Linked DNA regions of Homo sapiens: all the other regions are linked to region 3. Evidence: promoter capture Hi-C in 16 types of primary human blood cells and fetal thymus (Javierre and others, 2016). All regions are on one chromosome and are shown on one strand. Each heading gives the region's core, a stretch centred on a gene start or on the middle of the fragment in contact. The rest is flanking DNA. Distances are from core to core; before and after follow the strand shown.

Region 1 (2,700 bases), core at 32-2,531, 580 kb before region 3:
CACCTGGTCTTTCAAGGAGAACAATTTCCAAATTCCTTTTCTGAGTGCCATACATTCTGCATCTCCCAACCTAGTTTGCTTTGTGCTTGGCTCTTTGCTCTTCTCCACCAAGCCCCCCCTCCCCCCGCTCTGCCCACCACATTTTTCAACATTACTGGTTTTAATTTCCTTTACCATCCCCGTTGCAAAAACTTCTTTCCTGATTTAATTACTATTTCTCTTAATTCAATTTTATGCTCTTGATTGTCGTTAAACTCCTAAAGTTGTTTCTCCAAAGAATTTAATGGCTAGGCCTTGTGCTTAGAGATTAATTGTTGTCATTTTGCTTTCAAGCACAGGTACTTTCTTACTTCTCTTCAGTTATCTTTGGGAGAAAGGAAAGTGACCATCCTTCTTCCCAGGGCTGCTCTGAGAACAAACACTGCCGGGGGCTGCCTTTTGAGAGAGAGAGAAAGCCAGACCTCTTAAATTTGTCTTCCACCTTCTACTGACTCTAATCTCAGCATCTGTGAATAGCCAGAGAACCTCTGGCTCCTCAGGTGGGCTCAGGCCATGAACGGATTGTAGGGAGGGCTCTAAAAACAGCAGCCCAGGCTTGAGATAGGGTGGCTTTCTGCCAGGAGGGATTTGCACAGTGAAGAGGGGGAACAAGGGCTGGCTCTAGCCTCAAACATCCTGCCTGGCCAAGGTCCCCCAGAGGAACTAAGCCTGTGACTCAAAGGAAAAAGGAATACTTTTGGTTAGAATTTCCCTTCCCTGGAATGTCCCTCTTGGGGATAAACCTACTCCTGAGCATCTTTCTCACGTTCACTGTACAGTAGCTAAAAGGCTTTGACCTTTGAGTCTTCTCCCTGCAGCCCACAAACTCTTGATTTTCCCACCTCTGTCACCCCTGGATCTCCTGTTTTCCTGTGCAGATCCTTGACAAACAGTGGCCAGAGGTAGAGGAATGATTTCAGGCTGGAGCTCTGGCAAGCTCCCTTTACAATCCAGTTGTGTAACTCTGCCCCTGTGTGGGTGAAGCAACCCTGAAAGGTAGAAAGCACAGGCTCTGGGGCGGGCCTTAGACCCTGCCTGGCACTTAATGAGCCATGTGATCTCGTGGCTCAGCTGCCTCTGAACCTCAGTTCCCTGGTCTGTGGATAATCAGATATAGAACCGTATAGAAGGGATGCGGGGCTGACTTTTATTTCATGTGAGGGTTAAATGAAAGAATTGAAGTAAAGTATTCAGCACAGTTTCCTGGCACATAAGCCTTAAATAACAAATATTATCAACATTGAGTAGCATTTGGTCCTACATCAGTCATAGAATCTTCAACTTTTAGGACTGAAAAGGAAACCGAAGTCCTGTAGGCCAACCTTCCCTCCCCACTCCCAATTTGATTATGAAATCCTCTATTCAGCCTTTGACTTTGCTAGCAGACCTTTTGTGATGGGGCAGCTCACAGCTCTTGGGGAATCCCTGCCTTCTTTGGGCCATTCTGTAAATGTCAAGGAAGAGCTCTGTGTACATGTGTGATGTATTTAAACTGCTTTCCAGTTGCAGGGAACAGGAAGCCTTTCCCTATTCCCTATTCAGGTACAATAATGTAGGCTGCTAGGGAACAAGATCGAACAATTGGAGAAGGCTTTTGTGGCTAACTCAGTGACGTACTTGCAGGTGAGGGTTCCAGACTCCAGAGTCTCCCTTTACCTAGTTCTTGGGAGTCTAGTGCAGCTGAAGACGAGGTACTGCGGATGAAGAGGAAGACGAGGTACTGCGGATGAAGAGAAACCCAGATGATCCAGGCACATTTTATAGACAAGGCCTCAACGACCCCAAAGGAACCTTTGAAATCACCCTTTTCCTGGGTTCACGACGACTTGTAAACGATACCATCCATCCCTGCTTATTCATAGTTATTAAATACCAGAATAAAGAGATTAGAGCTCATGAGGTGCTTCGTCCCCATCACTCGGGCTGCTTGGCTGCATTTATGATGAGAAGGCTCTGGGTGTTTAATAAAGTATCTGATATGTCTAATAAAATCCTCCCATGGCCCTGCTGATGTTACTATAATAGCTTCATGTCACATGCTCTTGTGCTATTGAGCCAGTACCAGAACATATTTTAAATTCTTATTATGTCTATTTAATTTTTATTTAAAGGAAATTTTCAAGGTTTAAAGCAGGTACCGAGGTACCTAGGTGTGAAGACCTAGAAATGTGCTGTAATATTTATCAAAATAGTAATGGAGTGATTTAAGGATAGTATAGGAATAAGCAACTGTGCATTCGTGGCTTATCTAGTTATAGATCTGTACTGTTCCCCTAAGAACTGCAATTTGTGAAATAATGGCTTCTCATTGTTATGCCACATCTATTTATAAAAAGCTGAGTTTATTCTCAGTGCTCAGTAGTTTTTTTTTGTTTTTTTTTTTTGAGACAGAGTCTCCCTCTGTTGACCAGACTGGAGCACAGTGGTGCGATCTCGGTTCACTGCAATCTCCGCCTCCCCGGTTCAAGCAATTCTTATGTCTCAGCTTCCTGAATAGCTAGGATTATAGGCGTGAGCCACTACGCCAGGCCTCAGTACTTAAAAGATTTTATCTTACTTTAATGATATATTTTATATAAGCTTCTGGAAGGTTAGAGCAGGATTGGACCTTAGAACTTAATTTGACCAATTCCTTCCTGACAGTAATGACAAAATTGAGGC
Region 2 (2,700 bases), core at 14-2,513, 530 kb before region 3:
GTGTGGTGTCTATAGCAGCTATAGTGCTGTATCTAAGTCATACAAAAGTTCTGATGTGACCCCAGCTAATTCCAGCCTTCCATTAACTGAAGCCATTTGCTCCTTGACTGGTTGGGTCTTCTTCAGGTTCTGAGATCAATAGTTTCACAAGACAGCTAATTAGCCCACATTCAGAAGCTCAAGAGCTTCATCAGGTCCTGCACCAGACAAACCTACCTCTGCTGTGAATTGGAATTGAGCCTATCCCTCCCTCCATTCTGCCAGGCTTGGCCTCGTTTTCCTCTTCATATCACTTGGGGTTCAGTCAGAGAAGCAGAGCCACTTGGTGAGACAGACACAGTAAGGGGTTGGCTATAGACATTTCACCTTATATAATTGCGGGGACTGGTCTATGCAAGGCCATTATTTCTGTGTCTGGTGCTGGGGCCTGAAGTCAGCATCAGATACAGAAGTGGGGAAGAAATGATGGACAGGAAGTGGAGAACTGAGGTTAAAATGGATCGGCTGGAACTCAGGGAATGGGGTGGAATCCACACTGGTATCTCACTTCACCCAAGACTCCAACTTTGATGAGGGGGATGATTTACAGAAGTTATGCATTTTCTTATGGAACAAAAACAAAATGCTGAACTGGCCCAGGGATCAGGGGAGCTGAAACAAGAGCGTCTGCAGGAGCTGGTGGGCTTCGGGGGGGCCGCAGTTCCCAATGCTGGCCCACACCACCCAGAAGATATGTGACAATGTCTGTGAGGGCTTGTGCCCTGCCCTGGCCTCTGAACATAACAAGAATGTGGCTGCTGCTGCCTTTCCTTGTTCTGAATCTCTTGCAAAGTGTACTTGTGGCCAAAGCTGACCTGGCACGAACCAGAAAAGGGAATTCTAAGAAACACAACTCCAGCTTCACTAAATTGACACTGTAAAGCCCCCACACGTCGTGAGGCTGCAGTCTCATCATTGACTTTGGACTGAGGGCTACCTGATGGCTTTGTAGTTCACCTGTCTTCTTACTTTGTCCCAGCGCCTGTCCAGGTCAATGGAAGCAGTTTCCCTGTGTGTACCAGGCACTCCCAGCTTGGCCCTCCCAGAACTTCGCCCCACCCCTTCATGGTCTGGATTTCAGAAACCAGATCTAATTCCAGCTGAAAGTCGAGGGAGTTTACGGAAAAATCTATGTGGATGTGGGCATCTTAGAACGAGGCTTTCCTCTTCTGTTCTGGATTCATGGGGAGCTTTAGGAAGGTGAAGCTGTGTGTGAGAAGGCTTCTCAGAGATACCGTGGAGTTCAAGGCTCAGGAATCCATACTTGGGAGCATGAAGTTAATATGGATGCTGCATTCACCTGGTCCAGGAACTCCTGCTTTCCTCTCAGCCCCATCCTGGAGGGGTAGTACTGGACATTCCTGGTGTTTCGGGAGGCCAGGCATTATAGACAGCCTGGTCCAAACCTTTCATTGTTCTTCTAGAGGCATTGAGAATAGCAGCCTCATTAGGAGCAATGGCTGGAAGTAGACTGCCTAGCTTCACATTAGGGCTGACCTCGTATTAGGGCATGTGACCTTGGGCACATTACTTGCCCTCTCTATCCTTGATTTCTTCATATGTAAAATAGGGGAAAACAGTAGTACCTACCTTGGACTGTTATGCCTATTAACTGACAAGTGGGCTAAGTGTCTGGCACCTAATAAATGCTCAATAAAAAGTATTATTATATATAGACCATTTCCCCATAACCAGAGCCCTCTAACTCAAGGAAGCAGGCTATGGGGACTTCCTCCAGTTCTGGGTGGTTCTTCATCACAACTATCCCTCAAACTCATAGCTGGCTGTTGGTCACCTCTTTCCAACATGTACACCATTCTGCCTTGCACTGGAGTTAGCTGCTGGCTTGTCTGTCTTCTCACTAAACTGGCTGTATTAGTCAGGGTTCTCTAGAGGGACAGAACTAATAGGATATATATATAAAATCCTATTAATACTTAAACTCCCATATATATATAAATATATAAATAAATACATATATGAAGGGGAGTTTATTAAGTATTAACTCAAGTGATCACAAGGTCCCAAAACAGGCCGTGTGCAAGTTGAGGAGCAAGGAGACATCCAATCCAAGTCCCAAAACTGTAGAACTTGGAGTCTGATGTTTGAGGGCAGGAAGCATCCAGCACGGGAGAAGATGTAGGCTGGCAGGCTAGGCCAGTCTAGCTTTTTCATGTTTTTCTACCTGCTTTATATTCTAGCTGTGCTGGCAGCTGATTATATGGTGCCCACCCAGATTAACGGTGGGTCTGCCTTTCCCAGCCCACTGACTCAGATGTTAATCTCTTTCGGCAATACCCTTACAGACATACCCAAGATTAATACTTTGCATCCTTCAAGCCAATCAAGTTGACACTCAGTATTAACCATCACACTGGGGTTTCACTTAGCATCACTAGGAGCTGGGTCTACTTCATCCTTTCCCAGCACACAGCCTGGCAGATACTAGGCCTGCAGAAAAGTTTGGGGGGAACCAACATCTTCAATTCCCAGAACGTCTGATTTGCAAAGACTTGGAGGTTGTCTAAACCAATTTCCCACCAATTTTAGGAATTCCTCTTTTAGACCATTTTGCAGATAGTCTTCTAGTCTCTGCTTACATACTTCCCGTTATGGGAGACTTGCTATTACTCAGGGCAGCCCATTCTCTTTTTTTTTAAA
Region 3 (2,700 bases), core at 111-2,610:
TATCTCCCCTCGGCGCAGCGCCCCCCGCCCCCGCCACACACACACAAATTGGGACAGGTCAAACATATAAAACGGTATTTGTGATTCAAGCGGACCACATGGGGACCACTCTATCTGCATTGTTTCACTCAAATATTTTCTCCTGTCCAAAAATTCATTTCTGAAAGAGACTGCGTTCACTCAGCAGCAACCTTTGGGACTAGGGGTCTTTAACTCTGATAAATTTTGTTTTCATCAAGAAATTTACACTTAAATTTATCATTTCCAGGAAGAAATTGCTCTCCTTCATACAGTCACCCAGGCTTTCGGCACACCATTTCATGACAAATGTGTCCGAGGAGACCAAAGCAAATCCCCTAGCGAGGGACTGACTAATAAGTCCTGTTGATTGATTTCGAAATGTTTAATTTGGGAGATGTGGGCGGAGGGCATCTACAACCATCAAAAAGTGAAAGTGCTAGTTGAGAGTTCCATTTCTGACCCGGTGCCGGGGAGGAGGAATGATTTGCAATAGTCAGACCCGCTCAGCTGTTCAACACGTGTGTGTTTGTTTTACACACAGAGTAGTTTCTGCTGCAGCGCGCGTGTGCATGATGGATGTGCACTTCGCTGGGTTATAACGTGTCCAGTTAAGAAACCCACGCCGTACGTGTAAAGAAATCAAACCTTATCCCCGGAACCATCTGCATCCCTGTGTGAAACACGCACCCAGTAAATGATGCGGGGAGGGGGGATTAGCCTGGGCGCAGAGGACCGGAGCAACGTAAACAGCTTTAGAACCTATGCAAGAGGAAAGTGCAGCTGCACCTCAGGGCGTCTTCGGGCTGGTGCCAGACGCCTTCTGCACCGGCTGCCAGGTCACTGGAGCTGGTCAGAAGCTGGCTGGCGGAGCCTTCCCTTTCGGAAGAGCTGTCCTCTCCCTTACCCCCCTCGCCCTGGCTCCGTGCCTCGGGGCAGCCTCGGAGGCGCGCCAGCAGCACTCCTCCAACTCTACTCCACCCGAGCCTGACAGCTGGGCGGTCCCGCCTGACCCGTGGGCAGGCCGCTGCACCCTCCCGCAGACGCACGCCCTGGCGAGCGGTTCCGCTGCAAAAAGAGAAGCCCCCAGGCCGGGGCCGGCCGTGCGGCGGAGTTTCCATTGTGCGGCCGTGCGACTGGCCGAGGAACGCGCGCGCGCGCGCGCGCACACGAACACACACACCCTCCCTCGCACACGCGGAACCGGCTGGGCCAGGGGAGGGAGGAGGAGGGTGACGTAGCGTCCCATGGCGTCACATTGACGTCTCGCATTCCAGGCACTCTATGGAGAGGCCGCTAGGGCTCCTGTGGCATAAATGACGTGCCGAGAGAGCGAGCGAACGCGCAGCCGGGAGAGCGGAGTCTCCTGCCTCCCGCCCCCCACCCCTCCAGCTCCTGCTCCTCCTCCGCTCCCCATACACAGACGCGCTCACACCCGCTCCCTCACTCGCACACACAGACACAAGCGCGCACACAGGCTCCGCACACACACTTCGCTCTCCCGCGCGCTCACACCCCTCTTGCCCTGAGCCCTTGCCGGTGCAGCGCGGCGCCGCAGCTGGACGCCCCTCCCGGGCTCACTTTGCAACGCTGACGGTGCCGGCAGTGGCCGTGGAGGTGGGAACAGCGGCGGCATCCTCCCCCCTGGTCACAGCCCAAGCCAGGACGCCCGCGGAACCTCTCGGCTGTGCTCTCCCATGAGTCGGGATCGCAGCATCCCCCACCAGCCGCTCACCGCCTCCGGGAGCCGCTGGGCTTGTACACCGCAGCCCTTCCGGGACAGCAGCTGTGACTCCCCCCCAGTGCAGATTTCGGGACAGCTCTCTAGAAACTCGCTCTAAAGACGGAACCGCCACAGCACTCAAGTACGTATGAGATTCGCCCAGTTAATAAGGGGACTTGCTAAAAAAGTTGGCTTGCTGGGAAGCGTCGCTCCTGAAATTGACAACTTTGAGTGTGGGGTTCCCTCCCCTGACCTTGCCGCCCGGCTCCGGCTTTGCTAGCCCAGCGGCCCGTAGGTTCTGATCTGAAACTTTTCCCCTGTAGTGGGCCCGCGGGGATCTCTGGAGCTCGTGGGATTCCTCCCCCCACTCGAAGAGGCGAAAAGCCTCTAACAAAGAGGAGGACCGGGATTTGTGCTATAGCGGCTCCAGCGATGTAATTCAGGGTATTTCGGCTCTAGTTGTCATGGTAATGATGCTCTCGGCGGCGGCGGCGGCGGCGGCAGCGGCAGCGGCAGGGAGTTGCAGCTCCGGTGATGAACGGCAGTAATTTTCCTGCCTTTTAAGTAGGATTGAAAATAGGAGCTCTGGTGGGTCCAAGTAAATGTTGCTAATGGTGGCACCGAGCTGGTTCTCTGGAAGGAAGCTTAGGAGGGAAGGGCCTAGGCAGCGACGGCCAGAGTTTGCAGACGCACTCGGAGGACCTCAGGAAAGAGGGCGTAATTGTAGGAATGTGGCTTATTGTATTGAAATGAGCCTGGGGTTCCACTAGGCACGTCTGCCTGTCGTCGCTGACATGCCGGTTTACACTTTTCCCTTAGGAGGTAAATCGGGTGTAATTGGCGACTCCCGCACACTGACACGTGTGGGGACGGTGTCCCTCTCCTCTGGACGTTGGCTCGGTGTGGGAAAGGCATGCTTTTTCACGGACAGAACTCGCGCTTTTGGAGAAGTTGCTCCG

What was found. The method cuts DNA at HindIII sites, captures the fragments that hold promoters and counts their contacts. A CHiCAGO score of 5 or more calls a contact.
Region 1: a fragment that was not itself captured here is called in contact with the fragment with the promoter of NR4A3 in region 3 in 5 of 17 cell types (total B cells, naive B cells, fetal thymus and 2 more); the score reaches 9.9 in total B cells.
Region 2: a contact is called between a fragment that was not itself captured here and the fragment with the promoter of NR4A3 in region 3, in 3 of 17 cell types (M0 macrophages, M1 macrophages and M2 macrophages). The highest score is 13.1, in M0 macrophages.

The regions. Positions count from the first base shown.
Region 1 is chr9:99,238,838-99,241,537 of GRCh38, forward strand. It overlaps LOC124902230 (a long non-coding RNA gene), which reads left to right. Exons shown (of 2, transcript XR_007061690.1): 2 at 1,663-1,935. Among named protein-coding and RNA genes, the nearest start is that of SEC61B, 18 kb to the left of the region's middle. The HindIII fragment of the contact is 2,671 bases long and covers 1-2,617 here.
Region 2 is chr9:99,288,263-99,290,962 of GRCh38, forward strand. No RefSeq gene overlaps it. Among named protein-coding and RNA genes, the nearest start is that of SEC61B, 67 kb to the left of the region's middle. The HindIII fragment of the contact is 3,250 bases long and covers 1-2,700 here.
Region 3 is chr9:99,820,525-99,823,224 of GRCh38, forward strand. NR4A3 (nuclear receptor subfamily 4 group A member 3) reads left to right here and starts at 1,361. Exons shown (of 8, transcript NM_006981.4): 1 at 1,361-1,883. RefSeq lists a silencer at 1,455-1,504 and an enhancer at 2,079-2,591. The HindIII fragment of the contact is 5,731 bases long and covers 1-2,383 here.